Linked DNA regions of Homo sapiens: regions 1 and 2 are each linked to region 3. The links are contacts of gene promoters, found by promoter capture Hi-C in blood cells and fetal thymus (Javierre and others, 2016). All regions are on one chromosome and are shown on one strand. The core of a region is centred on a gene start or on the middle of the fragment in contact, and the rest is flanking DNA. Distances in the headings are between cores, read along the strand shown. Region 1 holds the start of LOC124904858 (a long non-coding RNA gene). Region 2 has its middle 120 kb from the start of SIRPA. Region 3 holds the start of NSFL1C (NSFL1 cofactor).

Region 1 (3,138 bases), core at 32-2,531, 280 kb before region 3:
GGTTATCCTTTGAACTCAACATTATGTTCTTGACAACTGATAAAAGCAAAAGAATTTAGACATACATCTTGCCCAAGCAGAACTAGTTTGGAAGGCTTTCAGGGAAAAGGCTGTTTAGAAGCATGAGACCAGAATGGGGAGCACTTGTGTGTACATTTCTACTCAAGTTTTTCCATTTTCCTTCTCTAACATCTTCTTTTGTCATAATCATTGTTTCTCTTTTTTTTTAATTTATTTTTATTTTTTATTTTTTTATTATACTTTAAGTTTTAGGGTACATGTGCACATTGTGCAGGTTAGTTACATATGTATACATGTGCCATGCTGGTGCGCTGCACCCACTAACTCGTCATCTAGCATTAGGTATATCTCCCAATGCTATCCCTCCCCCCTCCCCCGACCCCACCACAGTCCCCAGAGTGTGATATTCCCCTTCCTGTGTCCATGTGATCTCACTGTTCAATTCCCACCTATGAGTGAGAATATGCGGTGTTTGGTTTTTTGTTCTTGCGATAGTTTACTGAGAATGATGGTTTCCAATTTCATCCATGTCCCTACAAAGGACATGAACTCATCATTTTTTATGGCTGCATAGTATTCCATGGTGTATATGTGCCACATTTTCTTAATCCAGTCTATCATTGTTGGACATTTGGGTTGGTTCCAAGTCTTTGCTATTGTGAATAATGCCGCAATAAACATACGTGTGCATGTGTCTTTATAGCAGCATGATTTATAGTCCTTTGGGTATATACCCAGTAATGGGATGGCTGGGTCAAATGGTATTTCTAGTTCTAGATCCCTGAGGAATCGCCACACTGACTTCCACAAGGGTTGAACTAGTTTACAGTCCCACCAACAGTGTAAAAGTGTTCCTATTTCTCCACATCCTCTCCAGCACCTGTTGTTTCCTGACTTTTTAATGATTGCCATTCTAACTGGTGTGAGATGATATCTCATAGTGGTTTTGATTTGCATTTCTCTGATGGCCAGTGATGATGAGCATTTTTTCATGTATTTTTTGGCTGCATAAATGTCTTCTTTTGAGAAGTGTCTGTTCATGTCCTTCGCCCACTTTTTGATGGGGTTGTTTGTTTTTTTCTTGTAAATTTGTTTGAGTTCATTGTAGATTCTGGATATTAGCCCTTTGTCAGATGAGTAGGTTGCGAAAATTTTCCCCCATGTTGTAGGTTGCCTGTTCACTCTGATGGTAGTTTCTTTTGCTGTGCTGAAGCTCTTTAGTTTAATTAGATCCCATTTGTCAATTTTGGCTTTTGTTGCCATTGCTTTTGGTGTTTTGGACATGAAGTCCTTGCCCACGCCTATGTCCTGAATGGTAATGTCTAGGTTTTCTTCTAGGGTTTTTATGGTTTTAGGTCTAACGTTTAAATCTTTAATCCATCTTGAATTGATTTTTGTATAAGGTGCAAGGAAGGGATCCAGTTTCAGCTTTCTACATATGGCTAGCCAGTTTTCACAGCACCATTTATTAAATAGGGAATCCTTTCCCCATTGCTTGTTTTTCTCAGGTTTGTCAAAGATCGGATAGTTGTAGGTATGTGGCGTTATTTCTGAGGGCTCTGTTGTGTTCCATTGATCTATATCTCTGTTTTGGTACCAGTACCATGCTGTTTTGGTTACTGTAGCCTTGTAGTATAGTTTGAAGTCAGGTAGTGTGATGCCTCCAGCTTTGTTCTTTTGGCTTAGGATTGACTTGGCGATGCGGGCTCTTTTTTGGTTCCATATGAACTTTAAAGTAGTTTTTTCCAATTCTGTGAAGAAAGTCATTGGTAGCTTGATGGGGATGGCATTGAATCTGTAAATTACCTTGGGCAATATGGCCATTTTCACGATATTGATTCTTCCTACCCATGAGCATGGAATGTTCTTCCATTTGTTTGTATCCTCTTTTATTTCCTTGAGCAGTGGTTTGTAGTCCTCCTTGAAGAGGTCCTTCACATCCCTTGTAAGTTGGATTCCTAGGTATTTTATTCTCTTTGAAGCAATTGTGAATGGGAGTTCACTCATGATTTGGCTCTCTGTTTGTCTGTTGTTGGTGTATAAGAATGCTTGTGATTTTTGTACATTGATTTTGTATCCTGAGACTTTGCTGAAGTTGCTTATCAGCTTAAGGAGATTTTGGGCTGAGACAACGGGGTTTTCTAGATAAACAATCATGTCGTCTGCAAACAGGGACAATTTGACTTCCTCTTTTCCTAATTGAATACCCTTTATTTCCTTCTCCTGCCTGATTGCCCTGGCCAGAACTTCCAACACTATGTTGAATAGGAGCGGTGAGAGAGGGCATCCCTGTCTTGTGCCAGTTTTCAAAGGGAATGCTTCCAGTTTTTGCCCATTCAGTATGATATTGGCTGTGGGTTTGTCATAGATAGCTCTTATTATTTTGAAATACGTCCCATCAATACCTAATTTATTGAGAGTTTTTAGCATGAAGGGTTGTTGAATTTTGTCAAAGGCTTTTTCTGCATCTATTGAGATAATCATGTGGTTTTTGTCTTTGGCTCTGTTTATATGCTGGATTACATTTATTGATTTGCGTATATTGAACCAGCCTTGCATCCCAGGGATGAAGCCCACTTGATCATGGTGGATAAGCTTTTTGATGTGCTGCTGGATTTGGTTTGCCAGTATTTTATTGAGGATTTTTGCATCAATGTTCATCAAGGATATTGGTCTAAAATTCTCTTTTTTGGTTGTGTCTCTGCCCGGCTTTGGTATCAGAATGATGCTGGCCTCATAAAATGAGTTAGGGAGGATTCCCTCTTTTTCTATTGATTGGAATAGTTTTAGAAGGAATGGTACCAGTTCCTCCTTGTACCTCTGGTAGAATTCGGCTGTGAATCCATCTGGTCCTGGACTCTTTTTGGTTGGTAAACTATTGATTATTGCCACAATTTCAGCTCCTGTTATTGGTCTATTCAGAGATTCAACTTCTTCCTGGTTTAGTCTTGGGAGAGTGTATGTGTCGAGGAATCATTGTTTCTCTTTATAGGCACAGACTCAGAGATTAGTCATTACCTTGGACCTAAACTTTTTTTTTCAAATGTATACATTTATAGGTTGCTACCATTTTTTCAGTGGCCTGAGGAAAACTACTATTTTGAAGTAAAGTAATAC
Region 2 (2,937 bases), core at 360-2,859, 310 kb before region 3:
AGGCACCCGAGTAGGGGGGCCAACCATCCCTGTTGGGGTGATTCTTGACTTTACACTCAAGTCCTTATAAACTTACATCCACAATGGAAATCCTGATTCATCACCATTCCCTTCCTATCCCAACTTGGTCCTTCTCCAGATCTTCCCAGCTCAAAAAGTAGAGCTACCACCCACACAGCTGCTCTAGAGAAAACCTGGGAATTGTTGATCCAGAATTCATTCTGTCCCTCACCCCCCATCCCGCCCATCACTGAGTCCTGTGGGCTGTATCTTCCAAATGTGTCTCGAGCCTCCTTTTCTCACCACCCTAGTCCAGGCTACCATCACCTTGGCCTGGAGGTCTGTACCAGCTTCCCCACTGGTCTCCCTGCTTCCATTCCTGCCACGCTCCTTCCCATTCTCCACACAACAACCCCAGTTATCCTCTAAAAAATGTACATCAGACCACTTTGCCCCTCTGTTAAAGTCTCTGCTGGTTTCCCATCACTCTCAGAATAGAATCAAGATCATCACCATGGTCCCCAGGCTCTTCTCACTCTGGACCTCTTTGCCATGACACTAGGGTCCCCTACAGACTTCTCAGTTTCTCAAGCCCACCAAGCCCTTCCTGCCTGAGGTCCTTCTCTCCTGCTGTCCCCGCTGTCTGGAATGTCCTTCCTCTGTCCCTTCCCATTGCTGGCTCCTATTCATTCCTGAGTTTCAGCTCAATGATGTCACCTCCTCAAGTAATTCTTCCCCAGCTGCCCTTCTAGAATAAGTCCTCCCTGTATTCTCCATCTATGCAGTCTTTGGGTTTCCTTGATGGCACTGGGATCAGTCATAATCACATTTGCATTTGCTTGTTTTCTTATGATCAAATGCCGATATGCTGCCTGAAGACAGAATCAGACACAGCATATAGTAGGCCCCCAGGGCCTGACACAGCTCTGGTGCCACTGGTGCCTGTGGGGTGTGTCCCACTCTCAGTGTACAATCACAATTGCTCTTTCCTTAGCTGGACAGCCCTTCATCTCTCTGACTGGTCCATCTCACAGGACAAGCCCTGGAGACTCAGTGCCTTTCAACTGTACTGCTGTCCCCTTCAACTCCCAGGACTTCTCCCGGGACTTCAATGTTACGTGGTTGAAGGACAGTGATGAACATCCAGCCTCAGCTCAGCGCCTGGTGCCTGACAATGGAGGCAATGACTTCATCACCAGCAAGGCATGGGTGACACTGACCCGACAGGATGTCTCATCTGAGATCACCTGCGAAGTCACCCACAGGGCCCTGGCAGAGCCCCTGAAAACAACCATGAATCTCTCCCAAGTGCTCTGAGGTGAATGGGCAGTCAGGTGGGGTGGACATTAACCCTGGAAGCATCCAGCTTTCAGGGTTTTTGCCCAAAGCCTCATTTCATAAATGGGGAAATGAAATTCCTCATGGATTTCTGATCATGTGTATTGTGGTTATAAGCGCAGGTTCCAGGGGCTCGCTGTCTGGGTTTTAATCCTAGCTGTGCCACTTTACAACTTGTGGGATCTTGTGAGTTACTTGACTATTTAATACCAGTTTCTTTATATAACAGGAAAAAAATGAGGACCTACTTCATAGCTGTCCTGTGAAGATTAAATGAATTATTCCTTATAAAACACACATAACAGTGCCTGGCATGCAGTGACTTACTTACGAATGTTTGATCTTGTTATTATCTGGTCCCAGACTCCCTTTCTAAACATCTTTGTTCTATTAATGTCATTGTTACAGTTTTTTTTTTAAATGTTTATTATTCATTTAATAATAATGAATATCCACTGTATGCCAGACCCTGTGCTCAGTGCTGGGGATGCAGCAACGAGCAAAATAAAGTCCCTGTCGTCATGGGCATCACCTTTTACTAATTCTTAAAATTATATTTTCTGATATGAAATATTTCAAAAATACAGAATATAGCAGACACCCAGGTACCCTTACCCATATTTAATGAATATTAACATTTAGCCCTATTTGCTTTACATTACGCATACAAGAAAAAAATATTTCTTTAAAAAAAGGCGAGAGACCTTGAGGCTGTTCCCTGGGAGAGGGAAGCATGGGTGGCCACAGGCAGGGGCTGATTTCACCAGGTCTTACTTCCTATTCCTCTGTCTAGTTGTCCCCACCCTGAAGATCACCACTGAAACCTCTGGGACCCATGTACATGTGCAAGACAGAGTGAATCTCACCTGCCACGTCCTCCACTTCTATCCCGCCCACCTGCGACTCACCTGGATGGAGAACAGGAGCATGATCCAGACCCTGGTGTCCCCTCGTCCCCTCAGGCCACCAGAAATCCAGATGGGACATACTCTCTGGAGCACACGTGGCAGGCAGAGGCCACGCTGGAGGAGCGTGAGTTTGCTTGCTGGGTGGTCCACGATGAGCAGCCCCCACTCAAGGCCAACGTCACCCTGCAAGCCCAGGTGCGCAGGCAGGGGAAAGGTGGGTACAGCCTCTGGCCCAGCCCCTCTGGACATCCCCTGTGGGCAGCACGGCTGGGGAGGGTCAGAGACTCAGGGCGGCATTGGATGATGGTGAAGGAAGGAAGGATACCCGCAGCTGGTGATACAACTCTCACACATTCGCCCCCAGACTCCACTTCTCACGCCTTCCTCCACACCCTCCCCAAGAAGAAAGGGTGGGACTCCCCTTCCCTAATTCCATGCATTCTTGATGTTGAAAGTTCTCCACCTTAACACTTGACTGCAAGAAATGGCAGAGGTTAAGGACTGCTGAGCACCAAAGTGCCTTCTAGAAAGGCTATTAATCAAGACTGGCACAGTTGAAAGTTTCTGGATGGCAACTTTAAACAGAGGCCAGAATTCTGAATTCAGCTGGAAAAGAGGGTCCATGCACGGCCTTACGTAGGGTCAGGGCAGGCCCTTACACGGGGTCAGGACAGACCCTTACATGGGGTCA
Region 3 (3,181 bases), core at 268-2,767:
AAGACACCGAATTTTCCAGGAAAGCAACTATTGTGTCAATTGAGGGAAGACTGGACTTTGTGCTGTTCATAACCTGATTAAGAGGGGTTTTGACTAAGCCTGGGCACCTTCTCAAGGTCTCCTTGAGAAAGGGACACCTGAACTGAGAGCTGAAGAATGAGCAGGGGCCGACAGAGGAAGAGGAAGGGAAGAGTGTCCCACGGTGGTGTTGGAAATTAAAGCTCGAAGTCTCAAGGAAAACCAGCACTGAAATAAAAGATTTTTCAGCAAAGCCAATTTACTTCTGCAGAAGGGTGCCACTCACACATCTGGTCTTCAGGAAAGCACACCGAACAAAAGAGAGAAGGGGTTTTTATCCCTAATGCGGTTAGTCGCTGCTTCTGTGTCCTGTTCCCATTGGCTGGGGCTGGACTGCGCAATCTAAGCTAATCCCGATTGGCTAGTTCAAATGGAGCAGAAATGTGGGCTACAGTGGTAGGGCAAGCGGTTTCGGCAGGAAGAAGAGTTTCCGCGGGAATGGCAATTGTAGCGAGGGTATCCAAGGGAACAGATGTGAGTTATAGATTAGGACCCGCGGGAAGGTTGTTTACCGTAACTAGGGGTAAGGAGGTACAAAGAACAAGGAAGTTAGGCTTTGAAAATAGAGAACAAAGAACAAGTAAGCTGAACAAGTAAGTTCCTCTTTGGAGAGGCAAGAGGGCAAAGAAGCTGAGGACCCAGAAGACAGGATTGTGCCTAAGAAAGTGGCCTTGGAGCAGAGGCCCAAAGAAAGCGGGGAGAGCGCCTTGCCCATCGGTAAGGGAAAGGTGCTCCAGGCACAGAAGCAGCTAATGCAACGGCCCTGAGGCAAATGCAAGATAACTGGCAAGTTCCAGGAACAGCAAGGAGGGCAAGGCGCCTGGAGCAGAGGAAGCTAGCGGATCCCTTGATGAGAGGGAGGAACTGGCCCATCTCTCATGGGTCCTGCAGGCAGGCCATGAGACTGTCTTTTATGCGGGGCGAGATAACGAGGCATGGACGTGTTGTGAGCGGAGGCCTAGCCTGTTCAAGGTCTGAATTTTTACCCCTAGAATGTAAGAAGCATGGGAGCAGGGACTTTGTTTTGCTCCCTGCCATATCCACAGCCCTAGAAAAACGTCGGGCCATTGATAGCTCTCAGTAAATGCTTGACAAGTAAGTGAATGAACGAATGCACAATTAATGAAATGAGGGCTGCGTCAATGAATAACTGGGAATCTGACTCCTGCAGGGAGCCTTCAGCCCACAGGTGTATGTAAGACCCGCCCCGCCTCTCATCCTTCGGGCTCCCACCCCCGCCGTTAGGCTGCGGTTCGCGCCGCGGTCGCCAGAGGGCGCGGAGCGGCGGGGCTTCCCGCACGGAGGGCTTTGCGTGAGGCACCGCGTGGGGCGGGGCTGCGGGCGGGCTCCCAGCTGCTGGGCCCTCATCGGCTGGGCCTCGTCGACCGGCAAGCGGAACGCGGCAGCGGGGCTGGGCCTGTGCGGCGGCCGCCGGAGCGCTTTGGAAGGCGCACGGGGCGAAGATGGCGGCGGAGCGACAGGAGGCGCTGAGGGAGTTCGTGGCGGTGACGGGCGCCGAGGAGGACCGGGCCCGCTTCTTTCTCGAGTCGGCCGGCTGGGACTTGCAGGTAGCGCCGCGCGGCGGGCTGTGTCGGGTGGGCCGGGGACTGCTGGGAGCGGGCGCCTGGTGCCTTAAGCCCGCGGCGGCCGAAGCGCACAGTCATCCCCGCTCTACCGCGGCCCGACCCAGGCCTCATGGTCCCGGGACCGCTTGTCACGCGTCGCCTGCTCGGCTTGGGAGTGGGGGAACGCGGGCCAGCCCCAGCCAGTTCTGCCGTGCCAGTTTCACCCTGCCTCGCCCGCTTGCGGCGTCAGCGAGACTTCGGGCGCTGCGGCAGCCGGCGAGGAGAGGGAGCGCCTGGGGGCGTGGCTGCCGCGCCGAGTATCTGCTGGAGGCCGGGCTGGTCCGAGTGAGCAGCTCTTGGGTGAAGCCCCACTCGGGACTAGGTGGCCGCTCATTTCCACTTCCGAAGTCCAGCCCGGGAGTTGACCGCCGCCCAGCCTTCCTAATTGCTGGGAGAATACCTCTGGGGTGGTGGCGCAAGGTTGGAGCTTCTTCACCTTGCGTAGTTAACTTATCTGTAAAATGGGAGTCTCGTGGAAATTGCTGTGTAGTTCATTGGCACGTACTGAGTATTCACTAAATACTTGCTAAGAAGACTTAAGCTTCACGAGGCAGGGATTTTTGTACACTGATGAATTCCCAGTGCCTGGAACAATGCCTGGCACATAATAAGCATTCGGTAATTAACTGTAGAAAGAATTGCATAAATATTCTTGGCCAGCTTCGTCTTAGGTAGATGATGACGGTGATGACTAATATTTATTGAGTACCTACCATGAGCCAAGCGCTGTTCTGACTGCTTTACATGTCTTTTGTCATTTAACCTTCGCATTTTGCAGCTGAGATTAAAGAGGTTAAGTAACTTGCTCAAGGCCTCACTAGCTACCAGGCAGAAGAGGTAGAAGTGGAACCCAGTTCTGTCTGATTGCAAGCAGACAGAGCCCAAGCTTTAAACCACCATGTGCCAAGCACTTTACATAATATGATTCGTTGGATCCTAGCAACACTATGAGGTAAAGACTAGACCCATTTTATGGATGAGGAATTGGAAGCACAGAGGGCAAAGAATTTGCTCAGGGTCACATAGCCAGTAAGTAGCGGGGTTGGAATTTGAACTGAGTCTGCTGCCAAACGTAAATTACTCCCCAAACATAAGAATTCGGTAAAGCATCACACCTAGATCACACCTAGACACAATGGGAAGCCCCTATGCTGGGCAGAAATAAAAAGTTTCTACCTGAAAGACCTAAAAGCACACAGTGTTGTGACCAACAGATCTTCTGTCTCGTTCCCCTCACATTGTAGTGGGGAAACTGAGGATCATGCATGTGACTTGCCTGGCAGGAACAGGACTTGAATGTAGGCTCCCTGAGAATGCCAGTTCACTACATGGCCTGAGACAGCACACTGCCTCCCAGCAGATTACTTTTATCCCTTGACAGCTCACTGTCTCCTGTGAAGTTGGTGACCCTGAGGACAGAGGCCATGTCTATTTCATCTCTGTGACCTCAATGCTTTCTTGTGTTTGTGCAAAGCAAG

The links. Contacts are between HindIII fragments. The CHiCAGO score rates a contact against its expected background, and 5 or more counts as called.
Region 1: a fragment that was not itself captured here is called in contact with the fragment with the promoter of NSFL1C in region 3 in 1 of 17 cell types (total CD4 T cells); the score reaches 5.2 in total CD4 T cells.
Region 2: a fragment that was not itself captured here is called in contact with the fragment with the promoter of NSFL1C in region 3 in 2 of 17 cell types (activated CD4 T cells and total CD4 T cells); the score reaches 7.5 in activated CD4 T cells.

Annotation. Positions count from the first base shown.
Region 1 is chr20:1,742,137-1,745,274 of GRCh38, reverse strand. LOC124904858 (a long non-coding RNA gene) reads left to right here and starts at 2,949. Exons shown (of 3, transcript XR_007067498.1): 1 at 2,949-3,138. The HindIII fragment of the contact is 2,674 bases long and covers 1-2,618 here.
Region 2 is chr20:1,778,043-1,780,979 of GRCh38, reverse strand. It overlaps the pseudogene LOC100289473. Among named protein-coding and RNA genes, the nearest start is that of SIRPA, 120 kb to the left of the region's middle. The HindIII fragment of the contact is 6,303 bases long and covers 1-2,937 here.
Region 3 is chr20:1,465,185-1,468,365 of GRCh38, reverse strand. NSFL1C (NSFL1 cofactor) reads left to right here and starts at 1,517. Exons shown (of 9, transcript NM_016143.5): 1 at 1,517-1,646. The coding sequence starts at 1,542. RefSeq lists a silencer at 1,223-1,492 and an enhancer at 1,787-2,288. The HindIII fragment of the contact is 14,006 bases long and covers 1-2,246 here.